2 separate regions of the Homo sapiens genome follow, and region 2 is linked to region 1. The links are contacts of gene promoters, found by promoter capture Hi-C in blood cells and fetal thymus (Javierre and others, 2016). All regions are on one chromosome and are shown on one strand. The core of a region is centred on a gene start or on the middle of the fragment in contact, and the rest is flanking DNA. Distances in the headings are between cores, read along the strand shown.

What was found. The method cuts DNA at HindIII sites, captures the fragments that hold promoters and counts their contacts. A CHiCAGO score of 5 or more calls a contact.
Region 2: a contact is called between a fragment that was not itself captured here and the fragment with the promoter of GK in region 1, in 4 of 17 cell types (total B cells, M0 macrophages, M1 macrophages and 1 more). The highest score is 9.9, in total B cells.

What each region holds. Positions count from the first base shown.
Region 1 is chrX:30,649,947-30,657,436 of GRCh38, forward strand. GK (glycerol kinase) reads left to right here and starts at 3,477. Exons shown (of 21, transcript NM_001205019.2): 1 at 3,477-3,669. The coding sequence starts at 3,592. RefSeq lists a silencer at 3,147-3,566. The HindIII fragment of the contact is 2,269 bases long and covers 2,853-5,121 here.
Region 2 is chrX:30,587,112-30,594,601 of GRCh38, forward strand. No RefSeq gene overlaps it. Among named protein-coding and RNA genes, the nearest start is that of TASL, 13 kb to the left of the region's middle. RefSeq lists a silencer at 6,736-6,845. The HindIII fragment of the contact is 2,791 bases long and covers 3,323-6,113 here.

The sequences.
Region 1 (7,490 bases), core at 2,227-4,726:
TGATTTCCTGCTTTACCAGTCAGAAATCATCACAGTGAGCTTTAGGTGACTCAAGCTACTTAATTTGCATGAAGGACCTTGATCTTCACCTCTGGGTTTCTTTGATGGAGATAGGACAGTGAGACTGCCTCTTGCCTTTCATGATTAACCGTTCTGCTTGTACAGTGCTTTAGCAGGCATTACATCATTTAAGTCTCACATTGACCCATCTACGTCAGTGACATTTTCCCTATTTTACAAACAAGTAACAAGAAGCCATGGAAATAAATGAGTTATTACTCAAGCCCATGATGATTAAGTGTTGAATGGCAGGGCCAAGATCAAACCAATGTCCTTCTCTTCCCAGTCCAGTGTTTTCTCTATTGCTTTGCCTTCATATCTGGGGTGGGTGGTGAGAAGAAGGTGAACCAGCATCCTGTCTTTTTTCCTTTTTGTTTGGTTTCCTACCTAACTTCCTTCAGCTTCCCTTCCCTCAGACTCTGGTAAAAGGGCACTAGGTTTGATGTCAGGAGACTGAAATTCTGGTTCTGATTCTACCACAGGAGGCTGGCTAGTCTTAAGATGTATGTCACTTATGCGCTCTTGGCCTCAGAGGCCCCATTGTTATTAATACTTCCAACTCTGTCTCAATTATAGTAAGAAAAATGGAATCAGAGTGTCTATTGGTTGATTTTTACAATTATATAAAGGTTTTGGACAATAGCTGGGGCTTGAGGGAGTGAGAAAAGTCAAGCAAAAGGGGATTTGTCCCTCTGGGGATTAATTCCAGGACGACCCCACCCCCGCCGCCCTCACCACACACACTCACCCTCCCTACCCCGAGGATACAAAAATCCGAGAATGCTCAAATGCCTTATATAAAATGGCATAGTATTTGCATGTAACCTATGCACATCCTCCAGTAAATTTAAATCATCTTTAGATTAACTATAACACCTAATACAATGTAAATGCTATGAAAATAGTTGTTACATGGTATTGTTTTTATTTGTATTGTTTGTTATTGTTGTATTGACATTTTTTCAAATATTTTTGATCTGCGGTTGGCTGAATCCTTGGATAAGAGACCCTCACATATGGAAGGCTGACTGTAATTCTAAAAAAATAAGACAAAGTGGACTTATAAGAATTCACAGTAGGCCGGTCGCAGTGGCTCACGCCTGTAATCCCAGCACTTTGAGAGTCCAAGGCGGGCGGATCACGAGGTCAGGAGTTCGAGACCAGCCTGCCCAGCATGGTGAAACCCCATCTCTACTAAAAATACAACAAATTAGCCGGGCATGGTGGCGCGGGCCTGTAGTCCCAGCTACTTGGGAGGCTGACGCAGGGGAATTGCTTGAACCAGGCAGGTGGAGGTTGCAGTGAGCCAAGATTGCACCACTGCACTCCAGCCTGGGCGAAAGAGCAAGACTCCAACTCAAAAAAAAAAAAAAAAAAAAAAAAAAAGTTCACAGTAAATATTTAAGATAGGCTGAGCTCAACTCTTCCATCTAACACCTTTCCCCTTATCTTTACCTCATCTCTAACAGGGTGCTGAGATGTGACGCCTGAAAGGCCAATATTTTGGCTTTTCAGTTTTGTTTTGGTGAAAGGAATGAGGATGTGGAATACACATTGTTGTAGGAACCATAGGATCAACAAATTTAAGAATCCCCCATGTACATCTAGCCCAACTTATTCTGAAATGTCTGAATTCTGATCCCATTGTGCTGCCAAACAAATAATTTGCTGTCCTGTTGGAATCTGAGAGTCAAAAGTATGTGAAAGTTCAAACGTGGTCAGGGATTTTTTTTTTTTAATGGATCGATGTGGTAGGTTTGGTGGCTTTGTTTTTACTGCCTTCTAGAACCAAGAAAATCCTTTTCTATATCATTCACTCAACTAATGCCTTTCACTGTTTTTAGAGGCAAGTTGGCCTGGTTCCTTGCTTATATGCCTGTCTCCCTCTTTTCCTCTTCCAGGAAATTCAGAGATACTGACTCATCTTCACTCTTATATTAAAGCAAGCCAGTTTATCGATAGTTATTAAATCTAGTATGTCCATAAGCAGGCTTCATCTGGAACATTAGAATGTGAGGTCTAGACGGTGTTTAGGAAAATTTGCTTTCAGATCATGTGTGGTAAAACTATACAAACAGAGATGGACAAGTGACGTGGTGTAGAGCAAGGTAAGAAAGGAAAAAAAAAAAAAAGGAAAAGAAATGATGTTCCAGAACACAGAGATTTGGGAAAGGGATGGAAAGAAATGACAGTGGGTATAGCGGAGTGCTTTTAAAATTGATAGAGAGCATGGTGGGTTACAAAAGCAATTTAGTGATTTTCAATCAGCATTAAAAAAAAATGATATGCCATAGAATAAAAATACAGAATGCATACTGTGGAAGGACAAATATTGTTTTGGAAAGTTTTTCTATACATACATAAATGTATATTAGATGTATATAACATGTATTTACATGTGTAACAATTGTAACTACAAATGTGCTCCCCGCCCACACACACTGGAGCCTGGGTTTGTTTTGTAAACTGTTTCACAGTGTGGGTCTTGGTTCCAAGTTTGAAAGCCCTTAGAACACAGGATCCAGAAGGATCCGGGCAAGGTAAATTCAAGGTCAAGGGAGAGTCCCTTTTCTGTCCCCTGCCATCCAAAGCAGTTAATGGAGGGAGAGGAAATGGCGTGTGGGGGAGGGGACCGCAGAGTGAGGCCAAACGAGGAGCAAGGGCGCGTCAGGACGGAGTGGTGCCGGGCGCCTTCTGCCTGAATGGTCGATAGAGGAACTTGGGGAGGTTGATTTTGGGTGCTTTCCTTAAATGCTAAACCGAAAGAACTTCCGCGTTTCTTGTCCCTGAAAAGCTTGCAACGGTGAAGGATTCGCGTTGCTCCTTGAGGTGACCCTATATGGGGTCAATCCCAGCCAAAGGAATGATTACGATTACCAGGGGCCAGATGCAGGGAGGTGGGCGGGGCGTGGGAAACGCGGGAAGGCCGGGCCGGGTAGGTCCACACAGCGACTCACGTCGCTGCACGACTCTGCACAGCCCACTGGAGGGAACAAGCAGTTCTACACACTTTGAGACCCCTATGGAGGCGAGCCCCAGGACACTAGTGGAAGTGCGCTCTTTTCGCCGGCCAGGAGCGCTGCCTGCCAAAGGGCAGTACTCGTCTCCGCCCCATGCCATGCAGCTGGATGGCTCTGCTGTCCGCTCGCCGGGCCCCCACGTGACCTACTGCGCGGGCCGCCGCCTCCACCGCGCCCAGGCCCCGCCCCCGTGACGTCTCATCGCCCTCTGCCTGTCCGAGCGTTCGGCTCTTTTGCGTTTGCTGATTGGCCAGCCCAGGTGACAGCGCCCACCCCCACCCCCCCTGACACGCCCCTGGAGCCTTGGGGGTACGCGGTGGGGGGCGGGGCCTGGGCCGGAGGGGCGGGGTGAGAAGGCTGCGCGCGGGTAAAGGGGCCGCCTCGAGCGCGGTCCGAGCGTTCAGCGGACGCGCGCGGCCTCGATCTCTGGACTCGTCACCTGCCCCTCCCCCTCCCGCCGCCGTCACCCAGGAAACCGGCCGCAATCGCCGGCCGACCTGAAGCTGGTTTCATGGCAGCCTCAAAGAAGGCAGTTTTGGGGCCATTGGTGGGGGCGGTGGACCAGGGCACCAGTTCGACGCGCTTTTTGGTGAGCCCGGGGTGACATGTGAAGAGGCGCTGAGCCGGGGCGGGAGTCGGGGGACGGAGGGGGTGGCTGTTGTGTCCCCATCCCGCATCTCTCCGGCCCGGTGCCCCGGCCGCTGGGCAAGGAGGGAGGCCGGAACGGGACCTGCCACACTGGGGATGCCCCAGCCAGGCCTGGGGGACCTCGGCCTCTCATGACCCCCATGGCCGAGTTGAACAGTCGCAGTTTTGGTGGCGGAGCTGGGTCACCTACTAATGGGGTGACTCTTCCCCCAAAGGGAGCAGGGACTCTCCGAGCATCCGCGCAGAGCGGCCCGCTTGCAGTAGGGGACAGGTGGCCACATTGACGGCTACCGCGGTCTTCCCCAGGAACATTTGGCCTGCGAGACACAGGACGTCCTTGGATGGGGGGAAAGCTGTGTCACGGCTGTGGTAGCTAACACAGCGTCCTTTCCAGCAGTAGAACGAATAAAGTATTGGAGTGATGATGCGTTGTCATCCTCTCCCATAAAAATTGCAGAGGGTTGAATACTGGGGAGGGTGGCAGAACAAATTAGGAAACAGTCACACTACACTGGTTTTGCCATAATCTTTATTTAATTCCGAAGACTCGCAAATTTCAGTTCTGAGACTTTGCCCATTACAAACAAATGATTGTCCTTACTGTGCTTCACAGCATAATGCGACACGGAAATTCTGTTTCTCTTTTTATTTACCATGTGTGACAGCACAGTTTTACCACAAAAGATTGCTATTTAAGTGACTGCTGATTAATTTTTGTGCAATTAGTAAACTTGCTCTTAAAGTGACCTAGCACAGAGTTCAGTAAGATAATTTAAAAGTAATTGAGGCCGGGCGCGGTGGCTTACACGTGTAATCCCAACAGTTTGGGAGGCTGAGGCGGGTGGATTACCTAAGGTCAGGAGTTCGAGACCAGCCTGGCCAACCTGGCATAACAAAAATTAGCTGGGCGTGGTGGCGGGCGCCTGTAATCCTACTTACCCGGGAGGCTGAGGCAGGAGAATCACTTGGACCCGGGAGGCGGAGGTTGCAGTGAGCAGAGATCACACCACTGCACTCCAGCCTGGGCAATCCAGCCTAGCCAACAGAGCGAGACTCTGTCTCAAAAAAATAAAAATAAATAAAAAATAAATAAAAGTAATTGAAATGAATGCCTGCTGATAAAAGCCCATGCTTTCAATGGATATTTGACTAACTTGGCAAGTTGATGTAAATATTTAATGATTATTTAGCTCTTCACTTTACCGCAAATCATGTTTTCCTGTGTTATTTAGTATGTATATATCTGTACATATATACACATATGTGTATATTTATACATAGGCATTATACATACAATGTATATATTTTTTCAAAGTTCTGTCAGAGCTGGCACTTGACTAAAAACTGCATTTGTGCTTTGATCCTGACATATCTTTTTTTGTCTAAAGTGAGAAGCTTTCAGTCTAATTTTGGTTTGAATCTTATTTAATGACTTACCCTGGTTTGAGCTGCCAAGCATAGTTCCACTGTCTCTTGCACTGTTTATCTTTTGATCACCCAGGGCAGGTTTCACTTTGTCTTATATTCATAGAAATGTTTATAGAGTAATCCTGAATCATAAGAAAGTTTGCTTAACTGGATTTGATTAATACATAATATACACGATCATCATCTTCCCAACTTAAGAAAGACCATTAAGACATGTGCCAACTAACTGTGGGTTGATGTTTAAAGCCATATTCAAGAATTGCCCACACAAATGCCTGCAGGGACCAGGCAGGTAGAAGGGGGAAGGCAGACTAGAGAGATATCCAGGTCAAGGGGACAGCTAGTAGCTGCCAAGCAGGAACACAAGCCCAGTGCTGCCAGATCGTCAGATTAAAAGCAGGTAGTCTAGAGTTTTCAATGAAATCTTTCAATTCTTAAATGTTGGCAATTAGTTTATAAAGCACTGTGGGGGCCAAACCAAGCATGGCAGATGTTCTCAAGTTTATACAGCCTTTGCTCAATATGAAAATGGGTAAAATATTTCATAACTTTGTAGGCTTCCTTTAGGAGTCAGCTTGAACTGTCCATGCCTTCTTTTTGACTGTTCATTATTGCTGTCCATGTAGCCCAGCAATCTTCTTTATTCACTACAGGTTGTTCTTGGTCCCTCAGGTTTTGTTGCCTAAAAGACATCTTTCTACATCAATGAAGAAGAACTTGATCAACTTCATATTACCACAATTAATTGTTCAGTCTGTAACATGAACAACATGAGCCTTCAAAAATTGGCTCCTGTTTACTGGGTTCTGTGAGGCCTCGTCTCATTGCATGTAAGCTAAGATGCAAATTCAGAAGATTCTTATCCTGCTTAGAGAATGATTTTATAAAAGTTGATCAGTAAAATTGTCCTCTCCTTGAGAAACAACTATGAAAGCATGCTCTAGAGGCAAATAAAAAAACCGTAGAGATCCTGTGTGAAGTAGTGAAAAACTTAGGAATGGTTTAGCAAGGTGTTTTTTCCTTTGTTTATAAGGAGAGAGATTGCTAAACCACTCCCTGCAAAATGCAGATAAAAGATTTGCTGAATAAGTGCTTCAATCACAAGATGATTCCCGGGAGTTATTCCAGTCATATTACTCCACGTTGTAATTATGACTGAAAAATAATTGCTTACCTCTCAGGAAAGAATACAGTGGATAAGAACTGTCATAAGGAAGCTTATAAAATTAAAGATATTTAAGTAATTTCCTATTATTCATTAAATTTGCATATTTAACTTGACTTTCCTGAGACCAATAATCTCTGCAAGCTTTCTTCTTCTTTTTTCTCTGTTAGCAATATTAGCTTTCTCCCATAAGGAGAAAAGGCTTTATCTGTGCTCTTTCATCCCAGGGAAATGCCTCCACCTCTATCCCACATATCCGCTTCTCTACCTCTAAATAGTGGCTCAACTGCCACCTTTTAGTGTAAGTCTTCCTCAAACCGTTATTCAGAATTCCCCCCCCTTCCTACAGCACTTTTAAAAATACTTCTATTAATAGCTCTTATTACCTTCCCCCTTGTATTATAATCGTATACCTGCTGTACTTGGGAGCAGGGTCCTCCTTTTAAGCTATTTGTCATGTTGACCAAGATGTTTTATGAAATACAAAGATGAACAGCACTTAAAGACTGTTCAGAGAGTGTTTTATACATGTTTATTGAGTAGATTTTTATTTCTCTTTAATAAGTTAACTGAATTATTTTTTATTTTATTTTATTTTTTTGAGACAGAATCTCGCTCTGTAGCCCAGGCTGGAGTGCAGTGGCATGATCTCGGCTCACTGCAGCCTCTGCCTCCCAGGCTCAAGTGATTCTTCTGCCTCAGCCTCCTGAGTAGCTGGGATTACAGGCATGCGCCACCACGCCCGGCTAATTTTTACATTTTTAGTAGAGACGGGGTTTCACCATGTTGGTCAGGCTGGTCTCGAACTCCTGACGTCGTGATCCACCCACGTTGGCCTCCCAAAGTGCTGGTATTACAGGCGTCAGCCACCGTGCCCAGCCAAGTTAACTGAATTTTAATTCTGGTTTTCTTTCTTACCTCTTAAAACATTCTTGGGTACGTTTGGTTACTTAATTTCTTCTTACATTTTAGTAGTAGACATACAATAGAACATGTTCATTTCCTCATCAAATTGTCAAAGAATTAATCTTGGGACCCCATGCATATGCTTTGTACAAGCGGAAAATTTCCAACTTATCTGATAGGAAAGTGAATTGGGGTTGGCACATGGTAACTCAGATTGCAGAGTAGGAACTTCTTGGAAAGAGAATTAGTGTAACAGGTTTTAA
Region 2 (7,490 bases), core at 3,468-5,967, 62 kb before region 1:
ATTCTGAGATCTGGAGAGTGGCGGCCCTGCTCCTACAGCTCCACTAGGTACAGCTTTTGCATTTTGCATGCCTGCAGACTTAGCACCACATGGATGTCACCAGAGTGTACAGCTTGCATTCTCTGGAGTGTCAGCTGGAGATGTATCTGGGGCCATTTCAGCCATGGCTGGTCCACTCGGAGTGGTCAGGATCTAGGGAGCAGCATCCTGAGGTGGCACAGGGCAGCAATACCCTGACATCTCCCCCAAAACTTTTCTGTCTTTCTAGGCCTCTGAGCCAGTGGATGGGAGGAGCAGCCTCAAAATTTTCTGAAATGCCTTCAGGCCCTATATCCTATTGTATTAAATATTAGCACCTAGCTCCCTTTTAGCCATGCTAATCTCCACAGTGGTTGCTCCACAGTACCCTTAGATTTGTCTCCTGAAAACACTCTTTCTTCATGATCAGACCGTGAATTTTCCAAATTTTGATGTTCGGCTTCTTTTTTTTTTTACTTTAAGGAAATATTTTGTATTGTTATTGTCTTTAATTTTTAATTTTTGTGGGTAGTTAGTAGGCTATATATTTATGGGGTGCAAGAGATAATTTGATATAGATAATAATACAATGTGTAATCACATCAGAGTAAATGGGATGTTCATTCCCTCAAACGTTTATCCTTTGTGTTACAAACAATCTAATTATACTCTTTTAGTTATTTTTAAATGCACAATTAAATTATTATTCACGATAGTCACCCTGTTGTACTAGCAAACACTAGATCTTATTCATTCTTTTTATTTATTTATTTATTTTTGAGACGGAGTCTCGCTCCGTTGCCCAGGCTAGGGTGTAGTGGGCACTCTAACTCACTGTAAACTCTGACTCCTGGGTTCAAGCAGTTCTCCCTGCCTCAGCCTCCTGAGTAGCTGGGATTACAGGTGCCAGCCACCACACCTGGCTAATTTTTGTATTTTTTAGTAGAGACGGGGTTTCACCATGTTGGCGAGGCTGGTCTTAAACTCCTGACCTCAGGTGATCTGCCAACCTCAGCCTCCCAAAGTGCTGGGATTACAGGCATGAGCCACCATACCCAGCCCATTCTTTCTATTTTTTGTAGCCATTAACCACCCCCAACTCCCCCCAACATCACCTTCTTACCCTTCCCAGCCTCTGTTAATCATCCTTCTACTCTTTATGTCCATGAATTCAATTATTTTAATGTTTAGCTCCCACAGCTAAGTGAGAACATGTGATGTTTGTCTTTCTGTGCTTGGCTTCTTTCTTTCTCTCTTTCTTTCTTTCTTTCTTCTTTCTTTTTTTTTTTTTTTTTTTTTTTTGAGATGGACTCTTGCTCTGTCGCCCATGCTGGAGTGCAGTGGCACAATCTTTACTCACTGCAACCTCCGCCTCCCGGCTAATTTTTGTATTTTTTAATAGCGACAGAGCTTCACCATATTGGCCAGGCTAGTCTCGAACTCCTGACTTCATGATCTGCCCGCCTCAGCCTCGCAAAGTGCTGGGATTACAAGCATGAGCCACGCGCCCGGCCTGGCTTATTTCACTTAATATAATGATCTCCAGTTCCATCCATGTTTTTGCAAATAACAAGATCTCATTCTTTTTTATGGCTGAACGGTACTCCATTGTGTGTATGTACCACATTTTCTTTATCCATTCATCTGTTGATGGACAGACACTCAGGTTGCTTCCAAACCTTAGCTATTGTGAACAGTGCTGCAGTAAACATAGGAGTATAGATATCTCTTAGATATACTGATTCCCTTTCTTTGGGGTATATATCTAGCAGTGGGATTGCTGGATCATATGGTAGCTCTATTTTTAGTTTTATGAGGAACCTCTAAACTGCTCTTCGTAACAGTTATACTAATTTGCATTCCCACCAACAGTGTATGAGGGTTCCGTTTTCTCCACACCTCGCCAGCACTTGTTATTTTATCCAATGGTTCTGGATAAAAACCGTTTTAACTGGAGTGAGTTGATATCTCATTATAGTTTTGATTTTTGCTTCTTTTTAAATTATAAATTCCAACTTTAGATCCTTCTTTTGCTGTCATATCTGATCATAAGCTGTTCAAAGCAACGATGCCACTTCTTCAAGGCTTTGCTGCTTAGAAATTTTTTCTTCCAGATACCCCAGGTCATCATTCTTAAATTTAGCCTTCCACAAAGCCATAGAGCACAGGACATAATGCAGCCAAGTTCTTTGCTATGCAGCAAGGGTGACCTTTGCTCCAGTTCCCAATAAGTTCCTCATTTCCATCTGAGACTTTATTTCCATTACCTAGTTTCACAGCTGCTTCCACATTTTCAGGTATTTCTTTATAGAAACAACCCACTCCTTGGTACCCATTTTCTGTCTTTGTCCATTTGCCTTGCTATAAAGGAATATCTGAGGCCAAGTAATTTATAAAGAAAAAAAGGTTTTTTGGCTCATGATTCTGACATCTAGAAAAGTTCACGATCGGGCATCTGCGTCTGGTGAGAGCCTCAGGCTGCTTCTACTCGTGATAGAAGGTGAAGGTGAGCTGATGTGTGCAGAGATCACATGGCAGGAGAGAAAGCAAGAGGTGGGAGGTGCTTTTTAACAACCAGCTGTCACAGAACCCATAGAGTGAGAACTCACTCATTACTGCAGGAATAGCACCAAGTCATTCATAAGGGATCTGCCCCCACAACCCAAACTCTACTAGACCCCCACCTCCAACACTGGGGATCAAATTTCAACATGAGATTTGGAAGGGAGAAACATCCAAAATATGGTACTCTGTAAAGAACTAAATTAAATGAAAAAGACACATTAAACTAATAGGTTAACACTGTATTTTGAGGTAAGATATGGATTCTGTTTTCCTTAGCATCCTTTTCTCTGCATGTTTAGATAATTTGAACTATAACAGAAAGAATGAGCTTGGTAAACCTTCAACTCTAAAGATGATAGTGGGCTCCCCAAACCATCTCTCTCTTCCAACTTGACTGTTTTAGGACAGTGGCTCTCGAGAGCAAAGCTTCCAAGCAGTTTAAATATTGCTCTTTATACAAGCTTTTATGAAAAGTTTAGTTTCTGTCATCAAATAGTTGTTAGAAGTTCAGAGGTTCCTTTGTGAGAGCCAGTTGAACAGTTCTCAGACTTATATTCAGAGGTAAAAGAGCCTAGAAAAATTAAACCTGCATAATCTTGGTGTCCTCTAATCCCACGAGATTGTGCAATTTTGGCATATTTTTTAAGGAAAAGGGACGAGACACTCCAAAGCCAAGTGGTGGGATTTATACACCCCAGAGAAAGTTCCAAATTTTTTACAATTTACATTCTCTTTGGAAAGCTTCTTAGTTTTTATTTCCCCCCTTGATTCTATTTTTATCATGCCATAGCACTGGCTCATGTTAATAAAGACAGTCAGGGACACATGAGTCCTATGGAGGAGAAACTGGAACTTCAGTCCAAGTAACGTTATTTCACAAAGCAATGGAGAAGTGAAATTAGTGCCGTTGAGCCCTTAAGACTCCAGATTTCCTCTCTATGGAGAGGCTTCTGGGGTAGAAATTTTTCATCTCTGTCTCCAACTGACCACATCAAACCCCTCTTTGGGTCCTGTCCCTCTATGAGTAAAATTCAAGCAAATGTATATATCAGATTATAGATCGAAGAGCTAGTTTTGTTTAAGCAACTTCTGTCTATTTACAGGCACACATTTATAACAATAAAGCAATTCCTATTCTTTGTAATTCTTTCCCTTGCTCTGTAACTCCTGGAGGTGAGAAGAACAATGCTTGAGGCTAATGAAAAACATCTTTCAAGATAAATTTTAAATTAATGAATCCCTCTACATTCACATTTAGTAGAAGTCAACTAATTAGTTTCAAAATTTAGAGCAAAAATAAATCCTTTCTATCAAGTCTCTTGAAGGGATTACTACGAAGCATATGACAATGCAAACTTTCTGTTGGGGGCTCATTATCAGAAATTCCCATCAAACAATGAGATAAGAATCTAATCTAATGAGAATCTAATCCAGTAGATGTAAGTGCTTAATTGTACAGATTCATATCAAATTGATTTACAAATCTCTTGGCTTTACTTTAAAATCTCTTAGACTTTAAGTACTCTTACCACAAAAAAAGAAAAGGAAAAAGGTAACTATGAGATGCTAGGTATGTTAATTTGCTTGACTACAGTAATCACTATGTATATGTATATTAAGATCAATATATTAAAACATTATGCTGTACACTTTAAACATATACAATAAGAATGGTCTTTTAAGACAATGCTTCTCAAACTTTGACACGCATATGAATCACCTGGGAATCCTGTTTAAATCCAGATTCAGTAGATCTGGGGTGTGCCCTGACATTCTATATTTCTAACAATCTCCCATGGGATGGCAATGGTGCTCATCTGTGGAGGACTACACTTTGAGTAACAAGGTTTCAAGGCACCTACGTTCTGCATCTTAAGCCTTTATATAGCAAAAGCTCTTATTTGCAGAATGCCTACTATACGTGCATTATAGACTAAAAGGTTTGATTTATGTCATTTAATCCTCAAAATAATCCTATAGAGCATGTTTGATTATTTTTTAAAATAAGAAAAGTTTGGATTTCAGAGAGGCTAATTACTTTGTCCAAAGTCACACAGGAAGTCAGGGCCAGGAATTTGGACCCAGGCTTTTCTGACTCCAAAGCCAGAGGACTATTCTCTATGTATTATATACAACATCTAGTACACAGCGTTTTGAGACAGAGATGAGAAAAACTTCCTACCATTCAGAATCAACAGTACAATGGCAGAAATCAGACAAATATGTAAAAAGATAAATTACAGTTTTTAAAGGTATTGTGCAAGTATCAAAGAAGTATAGATTACTGAGTTAATTAAATAGTAATAGGATAGGAAAGGATAAAATTAATATATTTCTGTACAATTACTTTGGATTAACTCTCATTAATCTACCTCTTGATGGAAGAAGTGGACAACTGTGGGCATTCTAACAACTGCCACATGTAGGTAACAGTGAGGAGGCCGTTGGAACTTTTCTGTGAGTTGGGGCTGGGGAAGGGAGAGGGATTTCCAAAGTCCCTTCAACATCTCCGCTTAAATGATTATGCAATTCAAATTTTGAACTTGTCATTTAAAAATAATTTATATAAATTACCTGCTCGTGGTTTAAAATATATATAATGGTACAGAGCTATAAAGAAAAAAGTCTTCTCCCCTAACTCCCTTATTTCCACTTTCCAAAGGAAAACATTGTTTTCAATTTTATGTGTATCTTTTCTGGAAGAACTAAGTTTTTCTTACAATTTTTACAATTTTCAATGTGAGCCTTGTTGAACACAAGTTACCTTAAAGAAATGTTCCATATAGGCCAGGCTCGGTGACTCACGCCTGTCATCCCAGCACTTTGGGAGGCCGAGGCGGGTGGATCACCTGAGGTCAGGAGTTCAAGACCAGCCTGGCCAACATGGTGAAACCCCATCTCTACTAAAAATACAAAAATTAACCGGGCGTGGTGGTGTGCGCCTATAGTCCCAGTACTGGAGAAGCTGAGACAGGAGAATTGCTTTTGAACCTGGGAGGCGGAGGTTGCAGTGAGCCAAGATCACACCACAGTACTCCAGCCTGGGCAACAAAGTGAGAATCCGTCTCAAAAGAAAAAAAAAGAAATGCTCCATGTAGAATTATAGAATTTTTGTACCTTTTTAACATCGAGATCTAGACTTGATCACTACTTTATTCAATTCAGAAACTACTTATTGAGCATTTATTAAGGGCCAGGTATTAGGCATTTTATACATAAAAACCACTAAGGTTTGATTTCTACCTCCAAAAGGCTCGTAGTTCAGGGACTTCTCTGATCAGGAAAAAAAAAATGACTGTGGTGTTGCAGACAGGAAATTACTATTTAATACTGACAGTGCCTTCTTCCTGTTTCACCAGAAGAGAAAAAGTCGGAATTTGAGGATATATTCTATTCGGGCAAGTTTCACTTCTCAAGTGATTCCCATAAACCCCTTTCTAGTCTGCACTCCAAGGTAATCCATTTGAACCTCTCCTTGGGTCTATTTTCCTTCTTGCAATTCATGAGGACATGTTTTTTTGTATTTACAAAGCTTTTATCTGAATTACAAGATGATCAAGTCAGAAAAACTGGTTCTTTCTGGTCCTCTGACGTAGGTCCCTCTGAACATTTAAGGTGAAGAGTCAGCTGCCCATGCAGAATTCATTCATTTACCCAACTCAAATTCATAAAGTGCCCCCCACAAAACTGTGAAATTTGAGTTGCCTGGACAAGAGACCTTCCACACGAGAATAGTGCCTTGTCAAACAACTAACTACTGTGTCTTTATACTTTCAAAACTTTAAGTTTTAAAGCCATTTCTGCAGCAAAATCTCACATTAAAAGATAGGTTTTAAGGCATATACTCCAAACTTCTGTGGGTCGAATTTAGTTGAATAATGCCTTTGTTAGCAACTAATGAGCCTGTCATCAAGAATGAGGAAGTTGGGAAGAGAAAGGTGGAATGTTTCCCAAATTATCTCATTTTAAGAATCACCTGATGTGCTTATTAAATATGCAGATTTTCTAGGCCCTTCCCCTGGAGATTTGGTTCATTAGATTTGGACCTGGGACTGCCACATTTAACAACTGCCTCAGAAGATTCTTACGATTAGACTACCCTACAGCAATAGTTTTTAACTTTGGATGTACATTAGTAATATCTGGGGAGTTTTTTCGCTGTTTTTTTTTTTTTTTTTTAAACAGGGTCTCACTCTGTCACCCAAGCTGGAGTGCAGTGGTGCAATCACAGCTCACTGCAGCCTCAACCTCCTGGGCTTAAGCGATCATCCTGCCTCAGCCCCACTAGTAGCTGGGAGTACAGGTGCGCCACCTGGTGAGTTTCTAAAAGTACATATATATTAATACCTGGGTTGCAAACACAAATACTCTAATTTATCTGGGTTGGTGCCAAGCATTGGTCATTTTTTAAAGTTCCCTAGGTGATTCTAGTGTTGAGCCATTCTAGTGTTCAGAAATAATGATCTAAAGTAGCAGTTATAAAACGTTTTGGTGTCAGGATTCCTTTACACACTTGAAAATTGTGGAGAGTGGTGCGTGCCTTCAGTCCCAGTTACTTGGGAGGCTGAGGCAGGAGGATTGCTTAAGCCCAGGAGTTCAAGGCTGCAGTGAGCTACGACTACACCTGTGAATAGTCACTGCACTCAACAAGCAAGACCCTGTCTATAAAGAAACAAAACAAGCAAACAAAATTATGGAGAATTTCAAAGAGCTCTTATGTGGGTTATATTGATATTGTCCATAAGCAAAATTAAAACTAAGAAATTTTGAAACATTTATTGGCCCATTTAATAATTATAATAATAGACCCATTATGTGGTAATATAAATAATGTACTTTTGATTTAAAAATTATTTTTCAAAAAAATTAACGAGAAGAGTAGCATCCTTTTCTATTTCTACAAATCT